Linked DNA regions of Homo sapiens: regions 1 and 3 are each linked to region 2. Evidence: promoter capture Hi-C in 16 types of primary human blood cells and fetal thymus (Javierre and others, 2016). All regions are on one chromosome and are shown on one strand. Each heading gives the region's core, a stretch centred on a gene start or on the middle of the fragment in contact. The rest is flanking DNA. Distances are from core to core; before and after follow the strand shown. Region 1 holds the start of DCANP1 (dendritic cell associated nuclear protein 1). Region 2 holds the start of SLC25A48 (solute carrier family 25 member 48). Region 3 holds the start of NEUROG1 (neurogenin 1).

Region 1 (3,435 bases), core at 723-3,222, 390 kb before region 2:
TGAGGCCTACAGGAGGCAGAGACATTCACCTCCACTTCCTGTCTGCCCATGGCTTCGCGGCCTTCTCACCCCAGCTGGCCAACTGGCTTCCCACCACTATGGGCCTCGCACTGCCCATGCCGGGCCTGAGGGGCCTGGCTCAGACTTTAGTATCCAAGGGGACTGCTGCCTTGACCACCAGAGCCCCCCCGTCTGTGCATCTGTCCTCTGTTCAGCTCTGGAAAGGCCACCGGGAACACAAGAGCCAACAACCCATGGCCTTTGTCTGCAAGGAACTTGAGGTCTCACCGGGCAGACAGGCACGGAGTGAGTGCTCCACCATGGGCCTCCCTTCCTCCAGGTTGCATCCAGGACTATGCTGTCTAGCGTGTCTGCTGTGACTTCCTCATGGCAGAGCCCCACACTGTGGCTGTTTATGGAGCATTTGCAAGTCTCCCTCGAGGGGAGCCCGTGTCTCTCACGGACAGCTTGGCAAGATTCACATTCTTGGAAAAGCAGAGGAATGCGAGGGTTAAAATACCTTAAAGGGCAAGGAGATGATTTCTAGATTTCCAGACAATGTCTCAGAGAATTGTAGTGCTCTGGGGTATGCCTGAATGTAACTAATGTAGCTCCTTTTGTGCCTGAGTGTAGACTGGGTCCATGTGCCTACATGCATTCAGTTCCTCCCACCAAACTGGACAGTGATAGCTAACCCTGTTGACCCTTATGTCTGGGTGCCTTAAATTTGTGATGCCTCAAACTGACCTTCACAATGACTCTAAGGAGGTAAGTACTGTGAACTTTCCCGTTTTCTACAAGAAGAAACTGTGGCACGGAGAGATTCAGTTACTTGTCCAGGATCACAGAACTATAGTAAGTGGGGGTGGGGACAAGAATTCTAACCCAGGCAGCAGTCTGACCAGAGGGCCCTAGCTGGGAGCAGCGTTCATGTGCACTGTATGTTCGTGTTTAGTGTATGTCTGTGCATACTTGCGTGTGTGCACACGCACACATGTTCACTCAGGCACGTGGGCTGCCCTGCGGTGGGAGCTGAGAGAATGCAGTGGAGGTTGTTGGGAGGAACTCACCCGCCTGCTCTGGCTGTCTGAGCAGGTGAGGGATAGTGATATCAAGTGCGAAGACCAGGCCCTGAAGCCAGCCTGACGGTTCCAGCTGTTAGGAGAAAGTGAAGGTGGGTGCCATGGATCTGATGATTTCAGTGATTTTCTACTCAAGAAAAATGAAGTCTCGGATGGGCAGAGCTTAACTGCCTTAAAAACTTGGTACAGGGCAAGGTGTGAGTTTCCCGGTGAGACTGTGTGAACTGTGAACGGGTAGAGTCTGAAACTACAAACCAGATGTTTCCGGGCTCCCTCCCGCCTGGTCTGGCCTGTCTTCCTTCTGCTGCTATGCAGTTCATCCTGGGTCCCTGAGGGCCTCGCAGATGCTTCACTCGAAAGATTGGAGTTGCAGAGTCCCCTGTGGAGGAATTGAACTGCCCCCTCTCGCAGGACCCCAGCTGGCAAGGTTTTGTTCCTCCCTGGAGGGTAGAGACCCTCACTGAGGCCCTGGAGAGGGGCACTCAGGGGCAGCAGCTCATTCCCAAAGTTCTCTGGTGGAGCTGGGGAGTGGCACCCTGGGAACTCTGGGGTTTCCCCACCAGCTCCTCTCTCCAGTCTTTGGTGTCCAGGTACAGTCTCCAGGCCGTGGCTTCTCGAGTTCTGTATGTGGGTTGCTGCTCCGTAATGCATAGTTGGGGGACCATTTTGGTCAGTGACAGATCACTGCTGCTTTTCATCAGACCAAAATACATGTGGCTTCTTCTCCTTGCCAGCCCTACCAGGGCATCTCCCATTATACTAACCCTGCCTATTGGACCTTCTGATGCAAGGAGCAGATTAAAATCCCCTCCCTGTTGCCTACCAGGTCCGTGGCTACAACTAAATCCCTAGTTGGGGAATCACAGAGCACAGGTAAGCCCTTGGGTTCTGGAGCCAGCTTACTGGGGTGTGAGTCTTCCTTAGCTCCGTGTGGATGGTGAGCCCTCCTCTCTCAGGTCTCATGATAGTAGCTAACCCTTATTAAGTGTGTGCTGGGCACTGATTGAATGCTTTACAGGTGTCACCTTCTAAGACCCTCGTAACTCTAGCAGGTAGTACTATTATCTTACCCATTTTCCAGCGGGAGAAATAGAGGCAAGAGCAGACTAAATCACTTGCCCAAATCGCATAGCTACTGATGGTGTGATGTTGGGCAAGATATGTAACCTTTCCAAGTCTCAGTTTCCTTATCTGTTAAGTGCAGTTAATACACACAGCACCTAGCAGAGTGCTAAGCACATGGTAGGCACTCAACAGGCAAGGCCACTTAACAAGAGAATGTGAGCCCAGCTGGAGGAGAGAGAAAAATACAATGACTATAGCACTAATCATAGTAGTGATCAAATAAGTAATGCACTCCTGAATGCTTGACTTTCCTGAGTGCAAGGTAAACTCCCTGAGGGAGTTTGCCTTATTCACTTCTGGTTCAGTTCCGTGGCTTTGCACAGATCTGGCACAAGGTGGGTGCTTGGTGAAGGTTTGCTGAATGAATGAGGAACTGCTTTGGGGGTCCCAAGGGGTCATTCACAGCATCAGAGAGCCCCTTCCTAGCAGCCCTGCTCTCCCTGCCTTGTGGCTGTGATCTGAGTGTTTTTGCTTCATCCCTATTGGAGAGGAAGCTTCCCACACCAGGGCAAGCCTGGGTCTTGCCCACCTCTGTTTTCCTGATGGAGAAGATGCTCAGGGCCTGTGAGTGAAGTTGGACCTCCTTGTAGCTTGCCCTGGGTGCAAAACGATCATCCTTTTGGGCAGAAAACAGAAATTGTTGACAGCTACAGACCCAGAGATTCGAGTCAGCCAGGGGAACAGGGCTGTGCCCTTGGTGCCTCAGATTCCCTGGAGAGTGGGGTCTGGGATCATGGTGACCATGTAGATCCCTCCCTGCATCACACTAGTGAACGTTGTTTCTAAACCACACTCTCCCCTTCTCAGCATGGCGTGGCAAATAGCTGCTGCCCTTGTTCACCGAGAAAATCCTCCTGCCCTTGGCGTACCTGGCTCCTAACGAGTCCCTTATTTGGAAGGAATTCCCCCACCCCCATTGGTGTGTGACTCACCCTGAGCGAAATAACTGCTGGGCTGAGTTCTTACACAAACCCCCACCCCATCCCCTCATTCCCTAAAGACCTTGCCCTCAAGTCAACCAAGGCCTTGATCCAGAAGTGACAGAGAATGCGGAGTGTGAGGATGAGGATGATAAGGGGGACAATGAATTTCCAGGCAGGCCCAGCTCCCAGCTCCCATCCTCAGGAAACCCTGAGCCCTGCCTGCATCCTTTCCAGAAATGTGAGTCCCACCTTTCCAATTTCCTCTTACACCTCGTCTATATTTCCCACCCCCACGTCTGCATGAC
Region 2 (3,262 bases), core at 279-2,778:
TGATGCGCCCCATGGGCAGGTTTGTGGCATGCATATGGGAATGGAGCACAGTAATTCATTTTGGAAAGCAACCCACTCCTGCTCTGCTCCAGCTCGTTAGTAGTTCAAGCAGCAGCTTTCTGGGCCTGGGAGGCCATCCTGGGCTGCCAGGGACACTGCCTGCCAACGTAAGACCTCCTCAATTGGTGCTGACACAGGACTGAGGGGATGACAAACTGCCTGGCACCCCTTAGGTGGTCTTCCAGAGGAGTGGGTTTTGAGAATTGTCAGGCTTTCCACTTGTGGATGCATTCCAATGGTGAACTCAGTAAAAGGCCACTCTTCAGAGACCTGCATTTCTCATAGCAGCCCTAGGCATATATCCCGGGCATGACAGGGCACAGCTTGGGGTTGATGCTGATGGCAACTCTGAAGCCTCAAGACTGAGTGGGTCACCATAAGCAGCAGGAAGTTGAGGTGCCGGGATGGGGTGTGATGCTTCCACTCCTCCCTGGAACTTTGCAATACTTCCCTAGCCAGGCCGGCGACTCCATCCCGGGCTGTCCTCTCCCGATACAGGTCCACTCTCTGTGTGCCGGGGCAGGGGAGGGAGTGATGCTGCAGGAAGGTCCCTTCACCTCCAAGTCCCCACTCCTCAGTGGACAGGCCTTTGTAGGATCAAGCTTCGGTGGTCAGGCTCTGTCTTGCTTTGGAAGAAGGAGGTCTGGCTGGCTGTCGCTTCATATTAACCTGGATGACGTGACATGAATATGCCCAGTGGGACAAGAGCAGGCCCAGCAGAGGCCCCTTCCTCCTGACCATACCCTTCACCATTCTTGTCAACCTTGGGGTGTCTTGGCTGAGACCCACAGCTGAGTCCCTGCTGGAAACTAGCAGAACGCTGGGGGGCTTCGAGTCTTCTTAGGAAGGGAGGAAAGACACTCTCATTGTAATCAAAAGCCTCTCCGCACAGCAGGCCACTTCTCCAGTGAGCACGGACCCCTGGCCTGGGGCCTGGCTGAATGTAGGGTCTGCCTACAGAGAGGGAGTTTGAGGTACAGAGCACCACCTCTGCCTTCTGTTGGCCCAGGGCGGACAGTGTAGGGTGAGCCAGGGCCAGGCAGGGAGCTGGGCCCCTAGAGAGCTGTAGCTGAAAGTTAGACATGACCCTGAACCACCAGGTGCCTGCTCTAGGCACGGGGTACTGAGTGGGACATGGCTGAGATGAACAAAAAGGCATCACTGCCCAGAGTTGGGATGGGAGAGAGTCCACAGCTGATTGGAATCAGCATTGTCAGCACAGCACAGTACAGGGAGATACGCGCATTGCCGTCTCTGGATGGGCGGCTGGCACTTTCAGTTCAAAGGCGCTGAGGCTCTGAAGTTGGCAAGGAAGAGGATAACCCGGAGAAGGGAGGACTAAGAGAATTTCACTTGATGACCCTTGCCTCTTTGTGTCTGGGATGAGCCGCGCGGAGCGCACCCTTATCCACCCAGAGTGCTGTGCCTTTAAGGTCCACTGGGGGCGTGATGTCAGCCGCCCTCCGGCACTTGGAGAGGTGAGCGCGGCAGCCCGCGCAGCCGGTGACTGGGGGACTGGGTTTGGAGTAGGACCTGCGGCGTGCTCGAGACTCCGACTTCGGTCTTGCGGCGCGCTCGCGCCCGCGGGCCATGCCCCACTGACTCTAAGTGGGCACTGCCCCGGCTCCGGGAGGGCGAGACCGAGCGCCGGCCATGGGAAGCTTCCAGCTGGAAGACTTTGCGGCGGGCTGGATCGGAGGTGAGTGTGCTTACCGGGGACCCCCGGTCAGAGAGAGCGAGCCTGGCGGAGTTTGCCTCTATGCTCTGAGGAAACTTTGCCTCTGTGCGCTGCCATCCCGCTCCCCGTTGTGCGCGCAGCCTGCTTTGGGGAGTGCCCGGCCCCGAGATCCCCCTGGTGGTCTTGCAGTTGCCAGGGCTAAATTCTGAGAGCTTCACAGCGTTTCGGGCTGAGCTTCTGATTTGCTCATTAAGTTAGGATCCGTGGGACTTGATGAGGTAATGATTAAACAGCTCGTCAAAGCCCACAGCCAATGGAGGCTCCTGGCGGCGCACACACCCTTCAGTGACCTGGTGCACACCTGAATTGCGGACGTGGCTCGCGGGAACTTATGTATGAGGGTAGCGCTTGGCTGCTGATCCCGGGGCGCAGGGTGGTGGGAGCCAGGCTTCGAGATTAGGCCGGCCCAACGGGGCGTCCCGACTGGAGGGAGCAGAGCTCTCACAGCAGGGAGCGGAGCGCCGGCTGCAGGTGCCCATTGCCAGGCTGCGAGGAGCACTTATTGCCTTCAGCCGCCGCCAACCGTCAGCCATCGCCTACCTCCAAGGCCCCTTCTCCGGGCACTGTTGGGTCTGCTGATCCCTTCGCCACAGCTCCCGAAGCCACTCTTTTACTGGGCCTGGGATGGGTTGCCTGGGCGAGAGTTGCATTCATTTCCTTGCTTCTCCATTTTTCTTTCCAATTGGTCTATCCCTCTTTTCTCAGCTATTAGGAAAGGGGGAAGTTTGAGGGACTTTGCTAATTGTAAAAAAAAAAAAAAAAAAAAAAAAAAGTCTTTCTTTGGACCCATCTAAAAGGGTTATCCTAAAAGGGATGTTGGCAAATGTAGCCCCTCACCAAAGGGGTGAAAAAATAAGATGAAAAGAACAACAAACCAGATTGGATCCCAACTCCTCCCCTCCTACCTAGCAGGAGACCACCTCTCTCCCGAGACCGGTGGCTGCAGGGCCCTGCTTCACACCTTCCTGAGCAGAGGTGGCTCCTTTCACCTTGAGTAAGTCTGTTGGCACAGATGCCCTTGGGTGGGGCTGAGACCCGCCTCTCCTAACTTTCCCAGTTAGGGGGCTGCAGCCTGAGGCCCGCTGGGCATATCCAGGTCCTTTTTGACTGGACAATTATTCCACCATTCAGCGGGGCAGGCAGAGAGAGGAGACACTTCCGTGGGCTGCCCCTTAAATAAGCAGACCACCTTCGGTAGGGATGCAAATGGCTTGGTTTGAAAAATGCCCTGGAAGGTAGGGCTGAGTCAGAGTAGTTCCAAGACTCTGATACCCCTCCCCATCCCCAAACGTGATAACATGTGAACCCTCCCCGACTCACAGCAAGTAGGGGATTTTTGTGCTTTATTCTGGTCCTTACTTTGGTGATGTTATTGAAAGTAATGGCAAAAATCGCAATTACTTTTGCACCAAACTAATAACATGGCTTTTTTTTTTTTTGGCTTCCATGAAATGATGGTAAGTG
Region 3 (3,227 bases), core at 202-2,701, 300 kb before region 2:
CCACTCCTTGTCTCTGCTTTTTAAGCCTTTTCATTGTATTGTCAGCCGGCTCAAACCGAATTTTCATGCTCGTTTTTCTTCATTAGAGTTCTACAAATTGTAAAATTGACTTTTCACCTCGTCTTCAGGGGCTGATCTGTCCCTTTTCTAAATCACACTGAAGTGGTGGCTGGGGTCAGTTCTGAGCCAGTCACAAAGGAGGTTTTGTGGAGTTCAGAAAGTGCAAAAGGAAAGGCCGTCTAGGGGCGGGCAGGAGGGGCGCTGGGCTGAGGGCCGGAGAAACAGACCAAGAGACATCCGCCGCGAGGGTGCGGCGACCTAACAAGCGGCTCAGGTATCCCCGACTGCTTTAAAGCTCCCGCTTCCTCCCTCCGCCTGGAGAGGGGGTCCCGAGGCGGCAGCTGGGGCCCCATCTATTGCCTGCTGACTAGGGGAGGGGGAAAGTAACAGTGTCTACAAAGGGCCTAGTGGTAAGGAATGAAACAGGGCGTTGTGTGGAGCAAGTCTTTGGGCAGGCTTGGGAAGGAGAAAACAGGGTCGCCGGGGCGGTAGGTGAAGTCTTCGGAGGCGGCTGGGCTACTGGGGTCAGAGAGCGGGGAGGCGGCGGCGGCACCTGAGCCCCAGGACTCCGCGTCGCTGGCGGGGCTTGGGGGACCGGGCAGGCAGGGGACGCACTGCGGCGGCAGGAGGCGCTCCCGGGCACCGCCTCCGGGCAGCCCTTGATCCGCCAGGCGCAGTGTCTCGGCCAGAGCCCAGATGTAGTTGTAGGCGAAGCGCAGCGTCTCGATTTTGGTGAGCTTGGTGTCGTCGGGGAACGAGGGCAGCACGCTGCGCAGTGCGTCCAGGGCCGCGTTCAAGTTGTGCATGCGGTTGCGCTCGCGATCGTTGGCCTTGACGCGCCGGCTCCTGCGCAGCGAGTGCAGCAGCGCCTCGGAGCGGACCCGCGTCCGGCCGCGGCGCCGCCGCCTCTCCTGCTCGTCGTCCTGTGCCCCTGGAACCTCAGACGCCCGGGAGATATTGGGCGCGCCCCTGCGGGCCGGCGCGGGCGGCCCCGAAGCGGAGGCTGCCTGTTGGAGTCTGGCACAGTCTTCCTCGTCGGTGAGGAAGCCGGATAGGTCACTGCCGCTGCTGCTGGCGCAGTCGAGGTCGGAGATGCAGGTCTCAAGGCGGGCTGGCATCGTTGCGCTGTGCAGGACCGACGGACAGATAGAAAGGCGCTCAGAGCGCTGCAGCCCGGACTGAGGGCAGAGCCGCCAGGGCGCACTTACGTTCCCAACAGCCTGGGGTTGTTACTCTGTGCCAGTTGCGGGTGCGAGAGCCTGGAAGGGTGCAGGGGCGCACGGAGAACTTGGCCTGGCCTCCTCGCCTCGCCTGCAGGGGCCACGCGCCCGGCCGGTCTCCTGAGTGATGTCGCCGGCGATCAGATCAGCTCGTGTGAGCACCGAGTGTGGCACACGACTGGCCTCAGGACCCCTTAAGTACCCGGCGCAACAATGGGCGCCCCCCTCCCTTGCCACCTCCGCCCCCGCGGCAGCCCGGGTGAATGGAGCGAGGCGGCAGGTCATCCCCGTGCAGCGCCCGGGTATTTGCATAATTTATGCTCGCGGGAGGCCGCCATCGCCCCTCCCCCAACCCGGAGTGTGCCCGTAATTACCGCCGGCCAATCGGCGGCGTCGCGCGGCCCCGGGAGTCGGCTCGGGCTAAGCTGGCCAGGGCGTCTCCAGGCAGTGAAACAGAGGCGGGGTCGGCGGGCGATTAGCGGCCGAGGCACGCTCCTCTTGGGGCGGGCTGGGCGCCCCTCGCTGGGGTGGGACGGGGAGGCGGGGCGCGAGCGCGAAAGTGTGAGCCGCCCAGTGAGTTGCGGAAACCTGGAGGGTACTTGGAGTTTGGGTTCGCATCCCCTCTCCAGCTGCTTAGTGGTCGCGTGACTTTGGACGAGTAATTTAACTTCCCTGAGCATTGCTTTCCCCACCTGTAAGATGAGACAAAAGTTTACCCTGTGGAGGATGATCAGATATAATGTTTGTGGAACACTAAATGTGCAGCATCCGCTGAACAGGGTGAAAATCATTTTCAAATAGACTGGAGAGTGGCCATGCCAGAGGCACAGGGCGCAGGGCAAGGATAAGTGTCGCTGCTCCGTTCAGGCTGATGAAGAAACGGGAAAGAATCTGACCTTCATCTGGGGAGTGCGAAGAGGAGAGTGGAAAAGAGGATCGGGTGATTTCCCAGGTTGCCTTGAGTCTTGGTCTCACCCTTCCCTTCTTTCCCTTCCCTTCTCCACCCTCCTCCGCACCTCTGCCCACAAGTCACCTCAAGATTCTTAATAAGAATTAATAATATGAGAATTTATATAAATAATAATATGAGAATATAATTATTAATATGAGAATTTCCTTTTCTTTGGCGTTCCTGAAACCTTGCCTGCCCCATGCCCGGAGAAATCCGTTGCACACCGTCTCTTGGAGCCCTGCTTGCAGCCTCTGTGGCCCTCTTCAGGGTGAGCCAGCCAGGGGATCCAGCTCCCCTGGCCCGAGAGAGAGCTGGCCCCTGGAGGGCAGCAGGTGACAGTGGAACCCCTTTCCTCCAAACCCCCTCCCGCCTTCGGTGTCTTAAACTCGCCTATTCCAGCAGGTCTTCCCTCTGCATGTCAGGAGTTACTTTTCTCTTGTCACCTACACTCACCCAGGAGCCACAGGGGCCCAGACATCACCCAACTTTGTACTTGGAGGATAAATAGTAAGGAACAGCACTCGATTATAGGATGAGGGTATTAAAAACAAAATGAGCAGCTTTCAGCAAAGTGCCTGCCCCCCACCTGATATCCAAGTGGTAGCCTCAGGCCGGATGCCTGGCCTGCTGCCATGGGAGCCTAGCTGACTCTTTGGGTTGGGGGGGGATTGGCCCCTTTGAGAAAGGGGGCTGTGTAGTGGCAGTTCCCACCTCGACTCACTGACCAGCGCTTGCCTTCTGGCTCAGGGGACTCTGCCCAGCTGTCCCCTTCCCCGACTGCACCCTGCAGGTACCCCTGATCTCAGTGGAAGGCTAGGACACAGTCATATATAAGGGCTCGAGATTTATTAGAAGTCACAGAAAGTGGCTTCGACCAGCTCACTCAGGAAAGGGCAGTTGTTGGATGGATACGGGGGCTTCTCAAGAACTCAAGGGCTTCGAGGACTTGTGTAAACCAGCAGGAGCCCAAGGGTCCTCTCTCTGCCCCCCACCTC

Evidence for each region. Contacts are between HindIII fragments. The CHiCAGO score rates a contact against its expected background, and 5 or more counts as called.
Region 1: a contact is called between the fragment with the promoter of DCANP1 here and the fragment with the promoter of SLC25A48 in region 2, in 1 of 17 cell types (megakaryocytes). The highest score is 9.6, in megakaryocytes.
Region 3: the fragment with the promoter of NEUROG1 here is called in contact with the fragment with the promoter of SLC25A48 in region 2 in 4 of 17 cell types (M1 macrophages, megakaryocytes, M0 macrophages and 1 more); the score reaches 8.2 in M1 macrophages.

The regions. Positions count from the first base shown.
Region 1 is chr5:135,445,376-135,448,810 of GRCh38, forward strand. DCANP1 (dendritic cell associated nuclear protein 1) reads right to left here and starts at 1,973. Exons shown (of 1, transcript NM_130848.3): 1 at 1-1,973. The coding sequence starts at 1,733. The coding sequence ends at 999. TIFAB (TIFA inhibitor) reads right to left here. Exons shown (of 2, transcript NM_001099221.2): 2 at 1-3,435. The HindIII fragment of the contact is 6,394 bases long and covers 1-2,699 here.
Region 2 is chr5:135,833,135-135,836,396 of GRCh38, forward strand. It overlaps SLC25A48 (solute carrier family 25 member 48), which reads left to right and starts at 1,529. Exons shown (of 8, transcript NM_001349336.2): 1 at 1,529-1,759. The coding sequence starts at 1,714. RefSeq lists an enhancer at 494-995. The HindIII fragment of the contact is 1,059 bases long and covers 661-1,719 here.
Region 3 is chr5:135,534,513-135,537,739 of GRCh38, forward strand. It overlaps NEUROG1 (neurogenin 1), which reads right to left and starts at 1,452. Exons shown (of 1, transcript NM_006161.3): 1 at 1-1,452. The coding sequence starts at 1,178. The coding sequence ends at 465. RefSeq lists a silencer at 1,027-1,321 and an enhancer at 1,439-1,954. The HindIII fragment of the contact is 9,722 bases long and covers 1-3,227 here.